7 separate regions of the Homo sapiens genome follow, and regions 1, 2, 3, 4, 5 and 7 are each linked to region 6. Evidence: promoter capture Hi-C in 16 types of primary human blood cells and fetal thymus (Javierre and others, 2016). All regions are on one chromosome and are shown on one strand. Each heading gives the region's core, a stretch centred on a gene start or on the middle of the fragment in contact. The rest is flanking DNA. Distances are from core to core; before and after follow the strand shown.

What was found. Contacts are between HindIII fragments. The CHiCAGO score rates a contact against its expected background, and 5 or more counts as called.
Region 1: a contact is called between a fragment that was not itself captured here and the fragment with the promoter of ANAPC10 in region 6, in 4 of 17 cell types (naive B cells, M2 macrophages, fetal thymus and 1 more). The highest score is 7.2, in naive B cells.
Region 2: a fragment that was not itself captured here is called in contact with the fragment with the promoter of ANAPC10 in region 6 in 1 of 17 cell types (megakaryocytes); the score reaches 5.9 in megakaryocytes.
Region 3: a contact is called between a fragment that was not itself captured here and the fragment with the promoter of ANAPC10 in region 6, in 14 of 17 cell types (megakaryocytes, erythroblasts, naive CD8 T cells and 11 more). The highest score is 16.2, in megakaryocytes.
Region 4: a contact is called between a fragment that was not itself captured here and the fragment with the promoter of ANAPC10 in region 6, in 5 of 17 cell types (total CD8 T cells, activated CD4 T cells, naive CD4 T cells and 2 more). The highest score is 9.7, in total CD8 T cells.
Region 5: a contact is called between a fragment that was not itself captured here and the fragment with the promoter of ANAPC10 in region 6, in 1 of 17 cell types (activated CD4 T cells). The highest score is 7.5, in activated CD4 T cells.
Region 7: a contact is called between a fragment that was not itself captured here and the fragment with the promoter of ANAPC10 in region 6, in 2 of 17 cell types (M1 macrophages and M0 macrophages). The highest score is 6.8, in M1 macrophages.

The regions. Positions count from the first base shown.
Region 1 is chr4:144,190,657-144,193,823 of GRCh38, reverse strand. No RefSeq gene overlaps it. Among named protein-coding and RNA genes, the nearest start is that of GYPA, 52 kb to the right of the region's middle. The HindIII fragment of the contact is 1,726 bases long and covers 472-2,197 here.
Region 2 is chr4:144,156,831-144,160,034 of GRCh38, reverse strand. The region is part of intron 9 of LOC105377460 (a long non-coding RNA gene); the gene reads right to left. Among named protein-coding and RNA genes, the nearest start is that of GYPA, 18 kb to the right of the region's middle. The HindIII fragment of the contact is 5,750 bases long and covers 1-3,204 here.
Region 3 is chr4:144,173,193-144,176,351 of GRCh38, reverse strand. The region is part of intron 9 of LOC105377460 (a long non-coding RNA gene); the gene reads right to left. Among named protein-coding and RNA genes, the nearest start is that of GYPA, 34 kb to the right of the region's middle. The HindIII fragment of the contact is 6,811 bases long and covers 1-3,159 here.
Region 4 is chr4:145,926,734-145,929,896 of GRCh38, reverse strand. The region is part of intron 1 of ZNF827 (zinc finger protein 827); the gene reads left to right. Among named protein-coding and RNA genes, the nearest start is that of ZNF827, 11 kb to the left of the region's middle. The HindIII fragment of the contact is 3,337 bases long and covers 1-3,094 here.
Region 5 is chr4:145,948,094-145,951,343 of GRCh38, reverse strand. No RefSeq gene overlaps it. Among named protein-coding and RNA genes, the nearest start is that of ZNF827, 11 kb to the right of the region's middle. The HindIII fragment of the contact is 6,241 bases long and covers 1-3,250 here.
Region 6 is chr4:145,096,409-145,099,789 of GRCh38, reverse strand. It overlaps ANAPC10 (anaphase promoting complex subunit 10), which reads left to right and starts at 1,594. Exons shown (of 5, transcript NM_001256706.2): 1 at 1,594-1,670. ABCE1 (ATP binding cassette subfamily E member 1) reads right to left here and starts at 1,479. Exons shown (of 18, transcript NM_002940.3): 1 at 1,371-1,479. RefSeq lists enhancers at 1,168-1,247, 596-1,467, 1,498-1,757, 1,838-1,887, 1,021-2,220 and 1 more. The HindIII fragment of the contact is 4,584 bases long and covers 543-3,381 here.
Region 7 is chr4:144,340,686-144,344,232 of GRCh38, reverse strand. All of the region lies in intron 2 of LOC105377462 (a long non-coding RNA gene), which reads left to right. Among named protein-coding and RNA genes, the nearest start is that of GYPA, 200 kb to the right of the region's middle. The HindIII fragment of the contact is 7,813 bases long and covers 1-3,547 here.

The DNA of each region.
Region 1 (3,167 bases), core at 85-2,584, 910 kb after region 6:
CACACATATGTTTATTGCGGCACTATTCACAATAGCAAAGACTTGGAATCAACCCAAATGTCCATCAATGATAGACTGGATTAAGAAAATGTGGCACATATACACCATGGAATACTATGCGGCCATAAAAAAGGATGAGTTCATGTCCTTTGCAGGGACATGGATGAAGCTGGAAACCATCATTCTCAGCAAACTATCCCAAGGACAAAAAACCAAACACCGCATGTTCTCACTCATAGGTGGGAATTGAACAATGAGAACACTTGGACACAGGAAGGGAAACATCACACACTGGGGCCTGTCATGGGGTTGGGGGAGCGGGAAGGGATAGCATCAGGAGATATACCTGATGTAAATGATGAGTTAATGGGCGCAGCACAGCAACATGGCACATGTATACATATGTAACAAACCTGCACGTTGTGCACATGAACTTAAAGTACAATAAAAAAATGCTTATGAATAGAAGCTTGCCTTTCTTCTTGAAAAAGTCTTGGCTAGCATCCTGGAGACACATGGCTCTGCCAATTCTTCATCCGGGACCAGCCAGCTTCCATATGACTTGCCAACTGACCATAAACCCATGAGTGAGCCTGGCCAGTGCCTAGAGGAGAAAAGATGACCCATTTCTGTGGAGCCCTGTCTAAATTGCTAACACACAGATTAGTTTTAGTCTTATGTCACTATGTTTAAGGTTATTCATCATAGAGCTAGACTGATACAGTTGACTAAATGCTTTAACAAGCATTTAGAGCATCTTAGTGGCTTAACACAATGACATTTATGTCTTGTTAAGTCACAGTCCAATGTAAGTTCATGGTGGTTGGAAGAATCATTCAGGAACCCAGGCTCATTTCTTCTTGAGATTCCTCTCTCTTCTAAGTCCTTGGAGTCTTTTATCTTTTCTTTTCTTTTTCTTTTTTTTTTTTTTTTTTTTTTGAGATGGGGTCTCGATCTGTCACCCAGGCTGGAGTGCAGTGGCTCAACAACCTTGGCTCACTGCAACCTCTGCCTCCCAGGTTTAAGCGATTCTTCTGCTTCAGCCTCCCGAGTAGCTGGGACTACAGGCGTGTGCCACCACGCCAGTCTAATTTTTGTATTTTAAATAGAGACGGGGGTTCACCATATTGGACAGGCTGGTCTCAAACTCCAGACCTCGTGATTCACCCACCTCAGCCTCCCAAAGTGCTGGGATTACAGGCGTGAGCCACTGCGCCCATCTGGTCCCTGAAGACTTATTCATTTCTGCAGCAGATGGGAAACAGAAAGAGAATCATACACAGGATATATTTGTAGGGTGGTTCTGAAGGAGGCATGTAACATAGCCACCTTCATTCTGCTAGCCAGAACATGATAAAGGAGACTGGAAAATGCCATCCATCTGTGTGCCCTGAAAAAGGAGAACATATTAGTAAGGACTAACAGTCACTGCCAAAGGCAGAAATGTTTGATTGCACTGTGTATGTTCTCCAGTGCCTAGCAAAATGCCTGGTTTATAATAAATTCTTAGCAGATGCTTATGGAATGAGTGGGTGAAATAGTGATGTTGTAGTGTCTATTTAAGATTAGGTGTAAGAATTAAGCATGAAGGACATTTATCTCATCCAAGCTCATCTCTTAAAATCTTTGAAGCATGAACTTTATGGTAGAGTGCTCACCAATTTAAAAACCAAGGCAACAAATGGATGTTGATGTTTTGTTTTATCTGAATTCCTAATACTGAGATGATGACATAATAGTTTTTTCTTACCCTGAAATTTGTAAGAATTTAAAAATTCAAATTTAAAAGAACAAATTGAAAGTATATTTAACATTGTCTTCAATTCCTCAAATCTTCATATATGTATGTGTATACATATATATACACATTATATTTTAAATATATATAACATTAGTGCACTATCCAAGTTGCCAATAACTTCAGCACTATCACATGAAATATGAGTAACATAGTTAGAAATTCATACAGTATTATCATACAATATAATTTATACTGTAATGTATGATTTATAAGTACACTGTTGAAAAGCCAAAAAGTTCTTATTCTGTTATTAATCATTTAAATTTCAGAGCACTTTCATTCTCCTATCAGGTATAAAATTCCAGAATTCTTCAATTCTCTATTATAACATATACATTAGAAGTATCTTTCATTTTTCTCTACTTACTCATCAGTCAAATAAATTTACATCAAGCTTCCTTAATCAAACTTCCAAGAATAGTCCCTTCTTTATTTTATTTTACCTGTGAAATGGGAACGTATGTAAACAGACTGTAAGGTATAGTCTCTGAACACCAAGCATCTAGGCAGAGAAGATGCAGTGGGGTCCAGGTAGCCTTTAACCCACTGAGCCACAGGGTTGGACATGAGGGGACAACCGGAAGCCTCCCTTTATGCACTAATATCATCTTCATTGTTTGCCAATTATAGTTCATTAATATGTTTTCAGGTAAACAGTGTTTAATTTCTCCAAGCATTCTAATGTGTAATGCACACAAAAGGATTGAGTTAATTATTATCACCCTGACCTGAAAGAGTATCTTAGATTATCAAGCCTACTAGCAGGAGCTTTAGAGAAAGGGATAGCTTATAGGAATATTTTGGTGAGAAAGAGAAGAGGTGAGATGTGTCACAGGAGTGTGCATTGCAAGTCATGGCCATGAAGGGTCACCAGAGAGCAGGAGGAAGACCCTGGACACCCGAAGGGTGGCACCAGGACCCCTATGATCCTGGCTATGCCATCCTCCAGAGAAAATAAAACACTAAGAATCACAGGGGCAAGTACAAAGACCCTAGAGATCACAAGCTAATTGGGCAAGTGGAAGGCAGAATATGGGGACAGTGCTGTTGGTTGAGAACAAGGCATATGTGGAATAGAGACAAGAAGTAAAGCAAAGAGTAGGACACAGTATGAGTGGGGTTGGTTAGACTTATTCATTGACATACTTATTCTTTGGTTCAGATTGTAGACTTTTTTTTAGAGGCAGGGTTTTGCTCTGTCCCCCAGGGAAGTTAAGTGGCATGATCATGGCTTCACTGCAGCCTCAAACTCCTGGACTCAAGCATCCTCTTGCATCAGCCTCCCGAGTAGTTGGGACTACAAGTGCGCACCACAACATCCCCCTAATTTTTTAATGTTTTTAGAGACTAGGACTTACTGTGTTGC
Region 2 (3,204 bases), core at 197-2,696, 940 kb after region 6:
GACCACTGGAACACAGAAATAAGGCTGTACACCCACAAACATCTGATCTTTGACTAAGCTGACAAAAACGAGCAATGGGAAAAGGACACCCTATTCAATAAATGGTGCTGGGATAACTGGCTAGCCGTATGCCGAAGATTAAAACTAGACCCCTTCCTTAAACCACATGTAAAAATCAACTCAAGATGCATTAAAGACTTAAATGTTAAACCCAAAACTATAAAAACCCTGGAAGAAAACCTAGGCAATACCATTCTGAACATACGAACAGGCAAAGATTTCATGCCAAAAGCAATTGCAACAAATGCAAACATTGACAAATGGGATCTAATTACACTAAAGAGCTTCTTCACAGCAAAAGACACTATCAACATAAGGAACAGAAAACCTACAGAATGGAAGAAAATTTTGCAAACTCTGCATCTGACAAAGGTCTAATATCTAGTATCTATAAGAAACTTAAACAAATTTACAAGAAAAATACACGTAACCCCATTAACAAGTGGGCAAAGAACATGACCAGACACTCTTCAAAAGGAAACATACATGTGGCCAACAAGCACATGAAAAGAAAGCTGAACATCATTGATTATTAGAGAAATGCAAATAAAAACCACAATGAAATGCCATCTCATATCAGTCAGAATGGCTATAATTAAAAAGTCGGCCAGGTGCAGTGGCTCACTCCTGTAATACCAGCGCTTTGGGAGGCTGAGGCATGCGGATCACGAGGTCAGGAGATCGAGACTATCCTGGCTAACACAGTGAAACCCCGTCTCTACTAAAAATACAAAAAATTAGCCGGGCGCAGTGGCAGGTGCCTGTAGTCCCAGCTACTCGGGAGGCTGAGGCAGGAGACTGGCGTGAACCTGGGAGGCGGAGCTTGCAGTGAGCAGAGATTGCGCCGCTGCACTCTAGACTGGGTGACAAAGTGAGACTCTGTCTCAAAAAAAAAAAAAAGATGAACAAAAAAGTCAAAAAATAACAGATGCTGGCAAGGTTGCGGAGCAAAGGGAACACTTATACACTGTTGGTGGGAATGTAAATTAGTTCAACCATTGTGGAAGGCAGTGTGGTGATTCTTCAAAGAAATATAAAAAGAACTACCATTCAACCCAGCAATCCTATTACTGGGTACATACCCAGAGGAATATAAATCATTCTACCGTGAAGATGCATGCACATGGCTGGGCACAGTGGCTCATGCCTGTAACCCCAGCACTTTGGGAGGCCGAGGCAGGTGGATCACGAGGTCAGGAGTTCAAGACCAGCATAATAACATAGTGAAACCCCGTCTCTACTAAAAATACAAAAAAAAAAAAAAAAAAAAATTAGCCAGGTGTGCCTGTAATCCCAGCTACTCAGGAGGCTGAGGCAGGAGAATTGCTTAAACCCAGGAGGTAGAGGTTGCAATGAGCCGAGATTGTGCCATTGCACTCCAGCATGGGTGACAGATACTCCATCTCAAAAAAAAGAAAAAAAAAAAAGATGCATGCAAATGTATGTTCATTGCCGCACTATTCACAATAGCAAAGACATGGAATCAACCTAATACTCATTGATGTTGGATTGGATAAAGAAAATTCCATATACACCATGGAATACTATTCAGCCATAAAAAAGAACAAGATCACATCCTTTGCAGGGACATGGATGTAGCTGGAGGCCATTATCCTTAGCAAACTAATGCAGGAACAGAAAAACAAATACCACATGTTCTGACTTAAAAGTGGGAGTTAAATCATGAGAACTCATGAACATGAAGAGGGAACAACACACGTTGGGGTCTCCTTGTGGGTGGAGGGTGGCAGGAGGAGAGGAGCAGAAAAAGATAACTATTGGGTACTGGGCTTAGTAACTGTGTGGCAAAATACTCTGTACAGCAAACCCCTGTGACGGTGTGACATAACAAACCTGTACACGTACCCCTGAACCTAAAATAAAAGTTTTTTTTAAAAAAGAAATAGATTATTTAATCAGATCCCATTTGTCTATTTTGGACTGTAAAGTAGTTCAACCATTTGTCTATTTTGGCTTTTTTTGTCATTGCTTTTGGTGTTCTAGTCATGAAGTCTTTGCCCATGCCAGTGTCCTGAATGGTATTGCCTAGGTTTTCTTCAGAGTTTTTATGGTTTTAGGTCTTATGTTTAAGTCTTTAATACATCTTGAGTTAATTTTTGTATAAGGTGTAAGGAAGGGATCCAGTTTCAGCTTTCTGCATATGGCTAGCCAGTTTTCCCAACACCATTTATTAAATAGGGAATCCTTTCCCCATTGCTTGTTTTTGTCAGGTTTGTCAAAGATCAGATGGTTGGAGATGTGTGGTATTATTTCTGAGGCCTCTGTTCTGTTCCATTGGTCTATATATCTGATTTGGTACCAGTACCATGCTGTTTTGGTTACTGTAGCCTTGTAGTATAGTTTAAAGTCAGATAGCCTGATGCCTCCAGCTTTGTTCTTTCTGCTTAGGATTGTCTGGGCAATGTGGGCTCTTTTTTGGTTCCATATGAAATTTTAAGTACCTTTTTTCCAATTCTGTGAAAAAAGTCAATGGTAGCTTGATCAGGTTAGCATTAAATCTATAAATTACTTTGGGCAGTATGGCCATTTTCATGATATTGATTCTTCCTATCCATTAGCATGGAATGTTTCTCCATTTGTTTGTGTCCTCTCTTATTTCCTTGAGCAGTGGTTTGTAGTTCTCCTTGAAGAAGTCCTTCACATCCCTTGTAAGTTGGATTCCTAGGTATTTTATTCTCTTTGTAGCAATTGTGAATGGGAGTTCACTCATGATTTGGCTCTCTGTTTGTCCGTTATTGGTGTATAGGAATGCTTGTGATTTTTGCACATTGATTTTGTATCCTGAGACTTTGCTAAAGTTGCTGATCAGCTTAAGGAGATTTTGGGATCAGATGATGGGGTTTTTCTAAATATAAAATCATGTTATCTGCAAACAGAGACAATTTGACACTCCTCTTTTCCTACTTGAATACCCTTTATTTTTTTCTCTTGCCTGATGGTCCTGGCTAGAACTTCCAATACTATGCACAGCAAAAGAAACTATCATCAGAGTGAACAGGCAACCTACAGAATGGGAGAAAATTTTTGCAATCTATCCATCTGACAAAGGACTAATATCCAGCATCTACAAAGAACTTATACAGATTTACAAGAATAGAACAAACAACCCCATCAAAAAGTGGG
Region 3 (3,159 bases), core at 126-2,625, 920 kb after region 6:
CCTTTACGACACATTTTATAATGATACATATATGATTCTATTTTTGTTCCAAATAATAAATTTGTACACACCCATGCACGTTTATGTGTGTGCATGTGTATATGTACTTCATTATTAAGTGAAGTTCACTTCATGATAAGAAATAGCTCCATAAATCTAAAACATGATAAGGGTGAAACAAAATTAATGAATGTTTGAGATGTGGGTCTGGATCATTTTATAAATACATATGTGAATCCTAGTTTCTAGTAGATTTTGAAATCCATAGTCTATAAAATTCCATAAGAGATCCAGCTTTCAGATATAAAATGTCATATATTGTAATTCCTATATAAATATTTCCTTTAAGTTAATGGCTATTTCATGGTAATAGTACATCATTAACTACAATCTGTAGTTTTGCATTTAACTAAACTTTTCACACAAATCATACAACAGATTCCCAACATGTTTTCAAATGTGTCTCCTAAGATACAGTGGAAAATGTGACTTATATTTAAAACTTAATAAATAACTCATTGATGTGAAGTGTTTTAAGTATGGCAATGTGCTGTTTTAAACAAAGTAGTGAAAATATATCACTGACTGTGTCTAGTTGTTTTCACTTCTTTCAAGGTTTAGATTTCCTTTGCCTGCCTGTCTGATTTAACTGGAAAAAAAAAAAAAACCCTTATGGAAAGTGGGAACCTTGCATACTTCAAAGTTAACCAAGATCAAAGTCAAATGAAGTCCACTGAATAAAGAACAAGCCTAAATGCAAAATGTGTCACGTTGATATTGGCTTGAGTCTTTTAGGTTATGGCTTGTACCAAAGCCTTAACTTTGGATTTGTCAGGTATCTAAGCACTGTGAGGTCTTATGGGAAAAAAAATGGTTTACTTAGTTTCTGCAGGAGACCATTTAAACACAAACTTATCTACATAACCAGGGAAATAATGTAGCTATTGGTAAATGAAACCTTGAAAATGTGAAAGGCTTCTTGCCTGTTGCATCTTTGTTAGCTGCATTTAACTCCTGACAAATATTCATCTTCTACAGGCTACATCTTGTCTAATTACAGAATTAGAAAGTTTTAATATGAATTATGCCTCCCTAAAATGTGAGCATGCTAAAAAAACTGAAATTAGCTATTATATCTTTCTATCTCTGCTAGAAGCATCTCTTAAATTGAGACAGTTTCATTGAGTCTTTTCAGGATTCCAATCTTGTTTGTTTTTGAATCTCCACAAATTTAGGGTCTGGGGATTTAGGCTAATGTTGAGTTCAATAAAAAAAAATGGAGAATTATTAACATGCAAAAGGTAGTGTGGTCTGTTATTTAAAAGATGCAATGGGTGTTCTTGAATGTTCTGCTTCATTGGAGCCCTCCTACACCAGACATGTTACCAGTAAAGGCACAATGTTTTTTCCTTGAAATGGTCCATGCTGTTTCACTTGAAACGGTGTGTGCTGCTGCTGGGTGTTCTGTGGTTCTGTCTCAACAACATTACTCAGAACTCACATTCAGCAGGTATCAACCAATAGGCCCTTTGGTATCAGAGAAGGAAATAAATCACATTCTCTAGAAACACCCATCTGTTTTGAATAGTCCCATAGATAGATGGCTGTCTGTTTCCTGGAATATTTAATATTAGAAAAAACTAGTCCAAACAGTTTACTCTCCTTAAGACTAAGCAGCAAAAGGTCTTCCAGTAAATGCACTGCATAATGGGAGAGGCCAGAGACATCCGCCTGTGACTCAAAAACGGAAAGAAAAAAATACTGATAATTTCTGTGACTTTGGTGACCTCTAGCGATCAAATCTTAGAACAAATCTACCAAGTTTCTTTTCTAAAATAGAGGGCTCTACAGAGTTAGATATTACATATTCGTTTTCTAATTTTTCTACTCATTATTTATTTATTGGTTATTATTTTTAATTGCCACATAATAAGTGTACATATTTGTGGAGTGCAATGTGATATTTTCATACATGTGTACAATGTGTAATGATCAAATCAGGGTAATGAGCAAGACAGTCACCTCAAACATTTATCATTTCTTTGTGTTGAGAATACTCAAAATCCTCTCTTCTAGCTATTTGAAAATATACAATAAATTGTTGTTAACTCTGGTCCACACTACAGTGCTATAGACCATTAGAACACATTCCTCCTATCTAGCTATAATTTTGTATCCCTTAACCAATCTCCCCTAGCCCCTCTTCCCCCTACTCTTCCCAGACTTTGTAACCACGGTTCTACTCTCTACTTACATGATATCAACTTTTTTAGCTTCCACATATGATTGAGCTCATGTGGTATTTGTCTTTCCGTGCCTGGCTTATTTCATTTAACGTAACGTCCTTCAGGCTCATCCGTGTTGCCACGAAGGACCAAATTTCATTCTTTTAATGGTTGAACAGTATTCCACTCTTTATACACCACATTCTCTTCATTTATTCATTTGTTGATGGACACTTATTTAGGTTGATTCCATATGTTGGCTATTGCGAATAGTGCTGGAATAAACAGAAGAGTGCAGGTATTGGCCGGGCCTGGTGGCTCACTCCTGTAATCCCGGCACTTTGGAAGGCCGAGGCTGGCTGATGACCTGCGGTTAGGAGTTCAAGACCAGCCTGGCCAATGTGGTGAAACCCCGTCTCTACTATAAATACAAAAAATAGCCAGGCATGGTCATGGGCACCTGTAATCCCAGTGACTTGGGAGGCTGAGGCAGGAGAATATCTCGAACCCGGGAGGCGGAGATTGCAGTGAGCCAAGATCACCTCGCTGCACTCCAGCCTGGGCGACAAGAGCAAGACTCCATCTCAAAACAAAAAAAGAGTGTAGGTATCTCTTTGACATACTGATTTTTGAATATACACTCAGCAGTTAGTGAATCATATGGTGTTCTATTTGTAGTTTTTAGAGGAACCTCCATACTACTTTCCATAGTGGCTGTACTATTTTACATCCCACCAACAGTGCATAGGAGTTCCCCTTTTTCCAAATCCTCACCAGCATTTCTTCTTATTATTATTATTTTGGCTTTTTGATAATGTCCATTCCAACTGGGGTGAGATGATATCTCCCTATGGTTTAGATTTGCATTTCATCGGTGATTAGTCGTGATGAGCATTTTTCCAGATCCACAAAGATACCAATGCATCGTGGTCCC
Region 4 (3,163 bases), core at 177-2,676, 830 kb before region 6:
TTAAATAGTGGTAATAGTTTCTGTATCACAGAGCTATTAGAAGGAATAATTGAATACATATACAAATGTAAATATTATACATATACACAAAATCATGCCTAATTAGTGCCTGCTGCATAGAAAGGACTTAATAAATATTACTTATTATTAAGTATGTGAAAGGTGTTTCAGTTTGTTTAGATTGTGAATAGATTACAGGTATTTCTGACCTGGAACTTTTTGGTGGTTTCTATGGTTTTTTTTTCTCAATATATCTCATTAGTGTGGTGAGTAATAATAATATGATATGGTAAAATTCTTTTACAAGGCTATTATTGTAGGGCTTGACTAATACTTGTTTCATAGGCCAACAATATTATATTAGGCTTTTACTACAGGAATGAGTTTCTCTGTTTATATGATTTGACCTGAATTATATCTAAGTTGTGTAATAATCATATGCATTATAACCAGATTTTACTATAAAGTGAGGATACTAAATCCTCCTTTAGACACTTAGAGTGAGACTCAAATTAGAGAATAGGTATTCCATAAATATTTATTTATTCTTCTGTTCAACAGGCAGCCCACTGGTTAGAGTAACACAGACGAAATTTATATTAGGTGTTCCATATGTTACATAGGTAATAGTTTATTTACACAGAAAGAAGGAAAGGCAGGGTCTGCTGTTTCTAATCACAGAGAACCAAATCAAGAGAATACATGCAATGAATCTTAAATGAAGGATGGGGTTGTGTATATGTGAGCACAGTGGGAAAGAGAGATCATATCGTAGGTTACAAGCTGGTGCCATAGTAATGTGTTTTGCCCCACACAGATACTGTTTAAAAACTTGAGACAACATTTTGGAAATCGGAGGTTTCATATAAAAATCCAAATTTCCAGCTTCCTTTGAAAACTTGGAAGAGTCACTCGCACTGGGCCCACCTCCCCACATGGCAGCAATCTGCTGTAGTCGGTGGCGGCTGTCTCCATTCCCCAGGCATGTGCTCGTCAGTCTGCCACAGTTCCTGCCACTCGGCCACCATGTCCCCATATGCATATACACCTGCCCACCTCCCTCAGGTATCTTACCTCCTGATCCCTGTAGGCGTTTGGATTAGAAACTGTTCTGCATTCCCCAGCATTCTTTGATCTTTCCATTCATCACTGACTCTCAGGTGTTGTATAGCACATTTGATGGCAGTATCAAGAAGCCGTATAGTAATCCCTATCCTAGCAGCACCACATTGCAGCCGTGACACAAGCGAGTTACTGCAGTTATCTGCCTGTTTTTCTCATTTGTGAAGTGGGAGACCATTGTAGGTTCTCTGAGACTAAGTCAGCCTATACACGTAGATATTTTAGATTTGTGTCTGGCATAGGGTATGTGCACAGTAAATGCTGGCCATATTAACACACTTGAGGTGTGAATTCATGTCAACTGAGGATTGCTTGAACTGTATTATGTAATTAGTCAAGGAAAACTATTGCTGTCCGTCAGTTTCTGATCACCATCAGCCAACCCAGTGGTTCTCAACCAGATGTATTAGAATCACCTGGGAGATTTTTAAAAAATACAAACACCCCCAGAGATTTAAGTTGAATTGACCCAGAGTGGAGCTTGAGCATGAACGTTTTTTAAAAGCTCCCTGGGTGATGTGATTCATTTGCTTAATCCCGAGTTGAGGACCCCTGAACTAACCAGAACTCCCACTCTGGGATGTTATCATTTCAGTCAAAAATAAAGACAGGAGATGGTGAGCCTGGTCAGCTTATTGATGGTATTTTTTCAGGCTCTTAAAACCCTAAAATTAGCTCGTGGACCTGGGTAATGGACTGCAACTCCTCGAGGTTGGAAACCAGAGAGACTGATGGAAGGAATCTACAGTAGGCAGGAGACACAGACTGCAGTCTTCTCCCTTAAACTCTCCCATCACCAAGGTTTTTCACTGGCTTTGTGACCTTGGGCAAGTCACTTAACCATCTCTGTGCTTAAGTAGCTCCATCATGTAAAACGGAAAACAGTACATTACTCAAACCTTCTGTTTGTATTATGCTTTATTCTTCATGAAGCACTTTATCATCTGCCTGTGAGGTGGGCAGGGAAGGGCTGCTTCTCCCACTGATTGGACAGAAGTGGACACAGACCCAGAGAAAGGAAGAAATTAGCTTGTAGTCACCAGTGTCAGCACTACCAAGGGCTGGACCATTTGATGGTCTCTTGAGACACAGTGCAGCTGTAGGTCTGTGAAATCTACATGGGATCTCACAGCCTGAAGGAGATGGTTTTGGCCACTATAAATTGCTTAGAGCCTCTCCACTACAGGAGAACCCCTTAGGTGTTGATGGAACGTGATGGCCCCATGATTCATGAAAACCTCTGCTGCCAATAGTATTTCCCTCCTCAAAGACTTAAGATCTGAGTTCATCTCAGTCTTATCAAATCAAATGTATCTTCCTTCTAACTTCTACCCTATTGGTCCTACTCTCTGTTTTCTGATCAGCACTTCATAAGTTTATGAAAATACTTTTCAAGCTGAATTTTAATTATTTGTTTCCATCTCTTTCTCTGCTCACTTGTCTCTGAGCTCCTTGAGAGCAGGGACTAAGCAGAGAATAGTAGAACGGAGTCACATGCAGTGACACTGTCTGAGGCCTGAATTATGTGCTCCATATGGAGAGCACTGCCTTTGCGTAATGGCCTAGAATTAGGCGGCGTTTTCTAATCTGCACTTGTTTGGCCGTACTTGTTAACCCAACAGTCCTCTCTAGAGCATGAAACACAGCTGTATTTGGGAGGAAACAAAGTGTGGGAGACCCTACGCTCCAGGAAACGTTACTGAAATGTGCTATATGATTTCTCCCTTCTAGAGGAAGGCAAACTTCAAATAATAACTTACTGGGTTTTAATCTGACCTTAAGAAAGTGAGAAATCAAATTACAGTGAGCTGCTTTGTGACATTTATAGAAAGAGAGAAATTTCACAATCCAGAAGTAGGGTTTGGGTTGGCTACTAGATCGTAGTTAGAAGTGCTGTGCACAAATGGCTACTCACATACTTGTTGATAGGTGAAAAAATATGTGCAGAAGAAGAGAAAAAGTATGAGAAGCTTAAACATGACTTGGGCGTACTCCATAAGGCTGAAACCATAGAAAACACAAATATTAACTATTAATTTAT
Region 5 (3,250 bases), core at 637-3,136, 850 kb before region 6:
AATGAGATGCAGCCTAAAATACCTGAGTTGTGAAATTGGAGAAAGCCCCCCAGCAGCCTGGTACTTAGAGTGAAGGAGGTGATCATCCTGCACTCCTTCACCTGTCCACTGCATCTGGTCCGGGTGCAGGGCACGGTGAAAGGGCAGCTTCAGAGGAGAACAGCAAGGATGCAGGAAAGGAGAATGGAGGAGTGCGAGGGCTGCTCTCTGCCAGTATTTGGAGGATAGTCATGTAAAAGAGCAAACCTATGCTCTGTGGCTTCAGAGGGCAAAATAAAGCACAGAGAGTAGAGAGTGAAAATGCTAGATTGCCTTATTTCATTTTTTTAACTATGGTAAAATAAACATAATAATTTTCTATTTAAAACATTTTAGGTGTACAGCTCAATGGCATTAAGTACATTCACACTGAGGTACACCAACTATCTCCAGAACTTTTTCATCTCCCCGAATGGAAGCTCCATACCCATTAAACAATAACTCTCAATTTACCCCCTTTCCCAGCCCCTGGCAACCACCATTCTACTTTCCATCTTTATGAATTTGACTACTCTAAGTATCTCATATGAGTAGAATCATACGGTATTTGTCCTTTCATGTCTGGCTTCTTTCACTTAGCATAATGTCTTCAAAGCTAACCCATGTCATAGCATGGGACAAGATTTCCCTCCTTTTAAGGCTGAATAATATTGCAGTTATGTATACACCACATTCTGTTTGCTCATGTATCTGTCAGTCAGTGGGCATTTGGTTTGTTTCCACCTTTTAGATACTGTGAATAATGCTGCTATGAACATAGATAAACAAATATGTTTGAATCCCTACTTTCAACTCTTTTGGATATATACTCTGAAGTAGAATTGCTGGATTACATGGCCATTCTATATGTAATTTTTTAAGAAGCCACGGTGGCTGTACCATTTTATATTCACAGCAGCAATGCACAAGGATTCCGACTTTTCCACATCTTCAGCAACACTTGTTATTTCATGCTCTTAATTTTTCAGATAGTGGCCATCTAACGGGTATAAAGGGAAATGCTAGATTTTGACTGACTCTTAAGAAACAATGATCTCACAATACGATCTGTCCAATTAGAGTCTGCCTCATTACTAAGTATGATCATATCAGAAGTTAGTCTAGATAAATGCAAGTCTAGTTCCAAAATTGAGAGTCTGTGAATATGTGACACAGTGGTATTTGAGGACCTTATTATTTTGTCTATTTTCTGGTCTGATGCATATAAGATAACGCATGAATTGCAATGGTTGGTTGGGAGTTACATGTGTATAACACATGATCATCACAAACTGATGATCAACAGATCTGACCTGCAGATACATTTTGTTGAGTATATATGTCCCAAAACTTGGAGATTTCTCGATAAAATTTAGATATCCCGCTTCTCCTATAAGATGGGAAAACACAGCAACAATGGGCTTACAATCCCTGGAATGAGAAACAGGAGGTTCCCTCCTCACTGTCCTGCTCAACAGTGTGTGACCTGCTGCCCCAGCCCGGCTGTGCATTTAAACAAGCTACCCAATTATAAACAAGTGGTAGATGTCGGTGACTTATGTACCTTAGGAGCTTTCCATAAGATACAAGCCCTTTGACCAAAGCATCTGAAACAGGAGAATATTACCACATTAATCATTTTTCCAATATTCATATATTTAATTACTTTGTTTTGTTAATTTTTAAACAAAAGTAACCAGTAAAGTCTAAGTCGTTACCCTTAGAGCCTTTTACAAAAATGGTCATCACTTGCCATTATGATATTTGTTCCATAAGAGCAAGGGCCGTGGATATTTTCTCACACAGTATACTCAAAGCCTAGGTTGTATGATAACATTAGCCATTACTCTGAGTACAGAAATATTATTGTTTGTTGTTTTTAATAAGTTTTGAGTATATTTTGTGGTGGACTGAAAGCAGTCATCCAAATCAGTAACAGGATGACACAGGTACTTAAAATAGTGTGTGATTAAAACCATTCATTCAAAGCACATCAAGACAACAAGACCTGTTTTGTGACTTTAGTTCTTTCAAGGGTAAGACTTGAACCCAAGATTGGGTTAAACATTATCAAAATTTGTGTATGTGGGCTTGTTTTGTTTCGTTTGGTATAAAAATCATTTTCTGAATTCAGAGAAAGTGCTAGTTTATAAAGTAAATTTAGTTTTTGATACTATTATTCCAGCTTTCTTTTTTCTTCTTTCTCTTTCCTTCTTTCTTTCAATTTTTAGTTTTCCTTGCCTATCTGGTTTTTTTGGACAGTGATAAAGAAGTGTTGAAAGGGAAGAAGTAGTCCTCATTCAGAACTATAGTTTTCCATAGGACTATAATGTAGAGTTGAAAGTAATCCAGTGTGGGTTATGATTTATGTCAGATGAATGCCAGATAATTCTGGGTCATTTATTTTGTTTCAGGAACAACAATAGGGGAAGGAGAAGGAGAAGGAGAACAGGTGGGTTTAAAAAATCAAATCACGAAAACCTCAATAAATGTTTTATAACTGAAATTTATAACTGAATGAATGCCACAATGCCTAAAATTCCTGCTGTGAAAGTTACTGCTGTGGGATAAAGCATGGGGAATCCAGAAAGCAGAGGTAATATATTCAGATTTTTCCTCTAGCAGCCAAAGCAAATGAAAATGTTTCCCCTGGGAATCTGGGGATAGAGCCTGAAGAAGGTTCTGGGCAAAATTTCTTTGAAACCTTGCATTTTGACTTAAAGTTCATGCAGAGTTTGGACCTCATGGCATATCCCATGCCGTCAGGAGCAGCAGCATATACCAGCTACAGTGCTTAGATTCAGTTAGACCCCACAGCAACCTCATGTAAGGGAAGTACAATATTGTCATTGTCCTCATCTTTAATGAGAAAAACCAGAGTACATGGTATCTCCATACATATCTTAATAAAAGTACATTTTAAATTATTTCAAAGTTAAATTGCTTAACTTTCAACAAACGTATCAGCAAAAGGAGCATTCCAGAAAGATGGCCATATTTATTCTATGACATCTTTTACTTTCTGGGTATTTCAAAGGTATCCCTGTTGGTAAAAGAGGATATGCTATTTGTATCACTGAAGACATTGGCATTGAGTAGCTAACTTACTTTTGTTGCGGTTCAAAAAAGTTTTAAATTATAGTAATAATATATGTTTCACTGTTAAAAACTTGGAAAATAGAAAAAAATGAACTCTCGTTATCCTGTTAGCTATCATTTTGGTAGAAAAAAA
Region 6 (3,381 bases), core at 345-2,844:
ACGCTGTGTAAAAGCATTTCAAAGACTGCTGTTAACTAATGATGTTTAGTATCACATGAAATAGTCTAACCCATGCTTATTGTAGTTTATTAGTCTTACAAAACACGTAGAAGTTAGGAGTGGTACACGGCTCTGATTTCAAAGAGTTTTAAGTTTAAGACATTTAGAAGAACTCTAACTTAATATTGTTTTCTCCCCCTCTCTCCCAATTGTTAGATGCTCTTCCAACAAACAAACAAACAAAAAAACTCCCTTTTTTAAAATAGGGGAGAACTAAGTTCTCAAAAAGCTCACAAACCCCAAACAGCTTTTGGTTCAAATACAGGTTCTGAGCCTTTGGTTACACTAACAAAGTATTAGTGTCAGGTGGCTGGTATACAATGAATATTCTCAGAATATGGGACAAACTACTGCAACATAAATGCCACTATCATAAATGACTAGTTAGCAGTCCTGTTGGGAAAGAGTAAAAAAATAAAACATGTTATTTGGACAGTTCTTCCTCTTATAGATTTTTACCATCAAAAAAGAGAAAATAAGCTTATGTAGTTAATGGGAGGTGGGAATTCGGCTTTGGCTGTCATTCATTCACAATACGTATTAAATGCCTACAATGTACGAAGCCCTGAAGAGATAATAAAGGTATTCTGAGTAAAGACATCAACCTTGATCTCAATGAGTATTAGATACAATAAAAGGAAAAACGGGTAAGGGGAGAAAGTGCCTAGTGCTACAAAAGCGTACCAAAAAAACTATAGGATTTCTACTGGGAAACTACTTGGGACAACCCCAGTCATAGCTGCGTACACGCTGTTCTGAGAAAAGCAGAGTGACATGTGGGCATCATTTCTATAAAGCCTGGGAGTGGACAGCGAGTATTCGACTTCATGGCGGCAAGATGCCATGACTCATTCCACTCAACAAAACGTGGAAGCCACGACTTCCCACAACCAAATATGCACATGTGACAATATATCCATTTTGGGTGCTGGAGGAGTGTGGGGGTACTAGAGAGTGCTGTAAGTTCTAAAGGTGCCTTCCTCTCCAGCAGGTTTAGCTTCAGGGCGGGAGTGGGGTAAAGGGGGAGTGGAGACTACGGCATCTAGGTCCATTCTCGAAGTCCCTCGCGGGTGTGGCAGGCAACAGCGGCGACAGCCGGGTCGGCTGGAGGGGAAGACCGAGGCGCCCCCAAGCTCTCGGCGTCGCCCGCGCTCCATCAGTTCCAGCTGTCCCGCAGGAACCGCTGCCACGCGCTGCTGCTGTCTCCGCCACCTAAGGCCTAACCAAAGGCTCTCGGAGAACGTCCCTACATTCTTTCCAACCTGGCAGATGGCAGCTAACGGCCAAACCTCTCCGGGCTATTCACGTACCTGGAGAAAACGATCCCCTTGCGGAGGGGAGCACAGAGGCCAAATCAGCTCTTGCCTTCACTTTTCAGCCACACAGCGTGTTCTCACGGCCACCGGCCAAAATGGCGGTGCCCAGCCGCCGCACGCGCAAGCCATAGGACGTAGTGCGCGCGCGCGACATAGAGCGTGAGGCGGAACCCTGGAGGTAGGTAGGGAGATATGACGTCATTGAGCTGCGACCCTTGTTCAACGCCGTTGGCGAAGCCAGCTGCTGGAGGTGCCGAGAATCTGAGTTTCGGCAAGCAGCCAGGTCTGGAAACTGTGAGTGTGTGGGCTTTTCTCCGACGTCGAGCGTGGTCCTAGCGTAAACAGATGCATTCGCCTCTCCGGTTTCAATCTTTTTTTACGTTTGCGCTTTCCTCAAGGCCGGTGGGTCAGGAGTGGAGCCTTAGTCATTCTAACGCTGGAGGTGTCAGTAGGACCAACAGAGTCTGGTGCCGACACGGCTTACTGTTGCGCGCTCTTCTAGGCCTCAACTTCCTCTCAACTGTGTGGTCAGTTCAGGGCCGGGAATCCAATCTTTTCCGAGCTCCATATTTTATCCACTTGGTGGCGTCCAGTCCCAAGTCCGGCAGTTGAATTCTGCCCTAAAGATGGGCTTTATTTCTATCTTTTTTTAGGTAACAGGACATTCAGTTAGTAATGATGGTTGCAGGTTGAATAGTCTCGCCCTAGATCTCACCTAACTTGCAGGCAAGTGACAACTAGTTCATAACTGAACCTATTCATCTGTTTATTCATTCAGTAAATTACTTATTGAGCGTTTAAGCCTCAGGCCTTGCCAAAGTTTACAGTCCGTTGTGTCTGCCGTTATTTAGTAAGTATCAAGTGCTTGTGTGCCGATTAAAGAACAACTTCGGATACAATGGGAGGTGTCAAGGAAACGGTATGCAGAACTATTGCACCTATTTTGAATAGCATATATAACAATGTTCAGTAGCAGTAACTGCGCTACCAAAGCAGTTTTACATATTGTTCACGATCCAGTATTGAAGTGTTTTTTCACATATGAATAGACTTAGTAAAATTAACAAAAGATGTGAAAGATGAGGTCAACCTTTTTAGAATGGGCCAGTTATTCACTTCAAAATCTTGAAGCCATTTTCCTGACCTTATCTTCTATGGTAAGAGCATATGTAAGTGAACTTTTAACATTTTTTTCTTATTTTTGTGCTTTTTGGGACAGTGTCTTGCTCTGTTACGCAGGCTGGAGTGCAGTAGCACGATCTCGGCTCACTGCAACCTCCGCCTCCCAGTTCAGGTGATCCTCCTGTCTCAGCCCCCCTGGGACTACAGGTGTGTGCCGCCACACCAGGCTGATTTTTTGGAATTTTTTTAGAGACAGGGTTTCACCATATTCCAGGCTGGTCTCGAACTCCTGGGCTCAAGCAATCCACCTGCCTTGGCCTCCCAAACTGCTGGGATTACAGGTGTGAGCCACCGGGCTGGGTCTTAAATAAAACTTTTGACAGCTAGAGGGCAGGTATGACTGTTCTCTGCATCACTCAATGAATATTTAAAATGAGGATCTTAGTGGGGTGATGGGATCACACCTGTAATCCCAGCTACTTGGGAGGCTGAGGTGGGAGGATCGCTTGAAGCAAGGTGTTCAAGACCAGCCTGGGTAACATAGCTAGATCCTGTCTCTAAAAAAAAAGGAATTAAGTAAATAAAATGAGGATCAATATTTATATATTCCTAGAATAAAAGTATTTCAGTCTGACTTTTCTAGGGCTAAAAGTCATTTGAATTTTCAGGCACAGAATTATAGAACTGCATAGCATTGTAGAAGTAAAAATCATCAAGTGAACCTCTTTAACAGGAGAGGAAATAAAGCCCAGACCTACTCAAAGTCTAGGCTGATTAAAGGAGATACTGAAGCCAAAACTTTGATTCTGTGCTCTTTTGACTACTATAGCTCACTGCTTTGCATATCTGGTCATATGAAACAAAACCTGAATTCCTAAGATTT
Region 7 (3,547 bases), core at 733-3,232, 760 kb after region 6:
ATGCATAAGGGAGGGTTTAATTCCATAATGGAGATTGTTAGTGGAAGAGATTAGATTTTCCCTTCTGGGTATGAAATAAATATTAGAGATTTTGGAATCAGAAAATGACATGATAATTTTCCCAATGTTTAAGGTTGATAATGGAAGGAAGATGTGGGAAGCAAAAAGTATAGGTAAAAGACCACTGATACAATAAAGTAGATTTGTTGAGGCTTATATTGGTACTTTGGCTATAGGGAGAGACGGAAAGAGTCAAGTGAAGAAAACACTCAGGGAGGGCTCCAGCGTTTTGAACCACCTAAGACACTGGGAAAATGTGTCACCACTGGTGAAAATGTGGTTCAAATGTAAGGTGTTAGAGGATGTGGTAGTAGGGAAAATGGTCAGATAGGTGTCATTTTTTTAGAATTCAAATTTATAATAGATCTTGTTTAAAAAAGCAGAGGCTTCTTTTATTATTTTTTTGGCAGAGGTATTCAAATGTCTGAAAAGAAGACTAAATTTTAAATTAGGAGATAAATCTGACACTGTGTGTGGCATTGAACAAGTCACTTCACTTCTTGTGACCTGAGTTTCCTGATACATCAAATGTGGGAATTGGATGAGTCACTTCTGGGTCTCCTCCAGTTCTGACATTCTATGGATCCATGAAATAGGCTTGGCACCTGTTTTCAATTTAAGCTCTAACATGAATTTCCTTATTCTTTAAACCTGCCTTTCTAGTAAGCTGCCACATTTATTACCAGGCTTGTAGTCATTTCCTTTTACTCTAAAGAGAATATACATTCAGTTTTTTAGCTCTAGGTTTTCTGCATCACACTGTCATCGTGTTGAAACCACTTTGTGGGAACAGCGGCTAAAGTCATCTTTCAGTTTTAGACGTGGTCATGGTTGTGAAGTGACGCTGGTCAGGCTGCCATTGGAACATTCACCCTGAGACCATGGTTTCCCTGCTTTGACGAGAATTCAAAGTGATGTTTTATACCATTGGAAGCTGTTTTAACTTATCTGGAACAATAAGGCATGCCTCGTGACAGCGCTTTATCCTGGAGTTCATTATTTCCACCTTGGACTTCCTCAACTCTAACTTCCACCATTGTATTAGAGGTCTCATTGCAGGACTCAAATAATCTGTTTCTCATTACTCACTTGTTTCTTTTTTACTTCTTTTCTTTATGTTCAGTTACCACAGCATTAACTGTCATTATCAGTCATCCAATTTAGCCCATGCTTTCAGCCAAGCACCTAAGAAAAATGAGGATAGGCTTAGAGGAAAAATAACATCAGGCCTAAACACATTCTGGCAGAATTGGGTGGGGAAGGGGAGAATTCTGACTCTCTCTTTACATTGCAAAGAGATGCTTTTGGGGGGGTCAGACAAAAGTACAATATGACCCCTGAGGCACCCACAACTCCTAAATAGGAAATAGGCAGGGATCTTTGGCAACCTGTTGTAGATGGAACTTGCATCATCATAGTCACTAGGGAAGATTTCTCTTTGTGGATTCTGAATGCACCTGACTCTGGTGGATTAAAAGATCAAAGAGAATTCATGGTAAGGCTGTCCTGCCTATAAGGTATCTTACATATGTACCCTTTCCCAGGCCCCCTAAACTATCTGATCTATCAACACATCATGCTACGGAAAAACATAAAAGCATCTAAAGAGAACTGTTCTCATCTTAGGCATTTACCCAGACCACCCGCCCTCTCATCCCCTCAACCCATTACTCCCTGCTCTTTGATGCTTCTTATTGCATTCCAGATCCCCATGTCTGCCCCAGGGCTTCCTCGGTGCTTTGGTGACCCTTTGATATTCCAGGTCTGTTTTAGTGAATAGGCCACTTCTAAGGGTTAATATTCAAAATATTTAGCAGTACCTATTGTCAGCGGCACTGACCAACTTGGACGCTGTCTATAAACAGCCAAACAGCAACTCAAGGGGTTCCTTTTCTTCTACTGGGTCCTGGTTCAGGCTTCTCATCAGTTCTTGGAAAGAAGCTGTTCCCTTCTTGAGTCTCACAGGACAGCCACTAAGTGCCCTCATCTCCTCTGTCGACTCCCCATCTTCATCCTCCAACAGATAAGATGGGTGTTACAACACGAACATTATAGTATTATCAAGTTGCCCTATTCGTAACTTTACTTATGTGGCACATAGAGGTTCTTCCTCTTATTCCTGGCGGGGAAGCATACCAGATGCTTTTGATGTCCCATGCGTGTGCCTTTGGGCCTCACAGTTCCATGGGAACTGGCTTGACTTCTGCTGCTGGCAGTGATCTCTTTCACTGAAGACTTTGGAGGATGGAGTCTGTTATGCCCTGTGCGCATGGCAGAAAGGCAGGGCCAGAAAATAAATGTCCCTCTCAGTACTTGTCGGATAAAAATCCAGACTCTTTAGCCTCTCGGGGCGACAGCTCTGAGGCTTGTAATCTTCACTGGCTCCCAGGGACCCCCGGTGGGCTTGAGCATGAGGGTTTGAAAACTCTCTTCATAGCCTGCCTTCGCTTCATGTCTTGCTTCCCCATTCTCCTAGCAGTGTTTACTGGGGTCACCTTCCAAATAAATTACATGCACCTGGATCACTGGGTTAGGGTCCACTTCTAGGAAAGCCCAAATTGAGATAAAAAAGAATTTTTTCATTCATTCATTCAAATATTGGGCATGTACTAAATATTACATATTATTTGATGATACAGGAGTGAATAAATCAAACACCCCTACCTTCTCAGAGCTTATAACAAATATAATAATTTATATATAAAATGTCAGAGGATTATGTGTTATAGGAGAAACTGAGGCAAAATAAAGGGATTGGGAAGTGTGGAGGTAGAGGTGTGGGTTGCCAATATTAACAAAATAGAGTAGGTGTCACTGAGAAAGGGACATTTGACCAAATACTTGAAGGGGGTGAGACACCCATTTGGATATTGTAGACAAATCACTGTGGCCTGAAGAAAGAGCAAGAGCAAAGACCCTGAGGTGAGGACATGTCTGTCATGTTTGAAGAACAGCACCAAGGCTGATTTTAATAAGTGGTGAATGAGTGGGAGAAGAGTAAAGATGAGATATGAGAGGTAACAAGGGCCAGATGACAAAGGGCTGGAAGTCCCCTTGTAAAGACTGAGTAAAATGCGGAGACATGAGTGTTTGGAGCACAGCAGCAAGGTAATCTGACTTACATGTATTTTAAAGGCATTATTCAGACTGCTGTTGGAAAGAACCATGGGCAGCGATGTTACACACAATCATGGAGGTTGCATTCCATATGGTGACATTCAATCTGGACTCTGCCTGCCCCACCATGTACCCTGGCATGGGATTGTGTCTGTCTGGAGGAAGAGGCACCTTTTCCTGATTCTTAAAAAGCTGCCAAACCTAGCAGTAGCTGACTAGGTGGACAAGGCAAAATAATAGAGAAGAGTGGATAAAAACAGGTAGAAGACTATTGAAATCATTCAGAATGGAGATAATGAAGACTAGGACCAGGTGGTAGTAGAAGAGATGGTAAACAGTGGTTCCACCATGGACAGATTGAAGGTAGTGT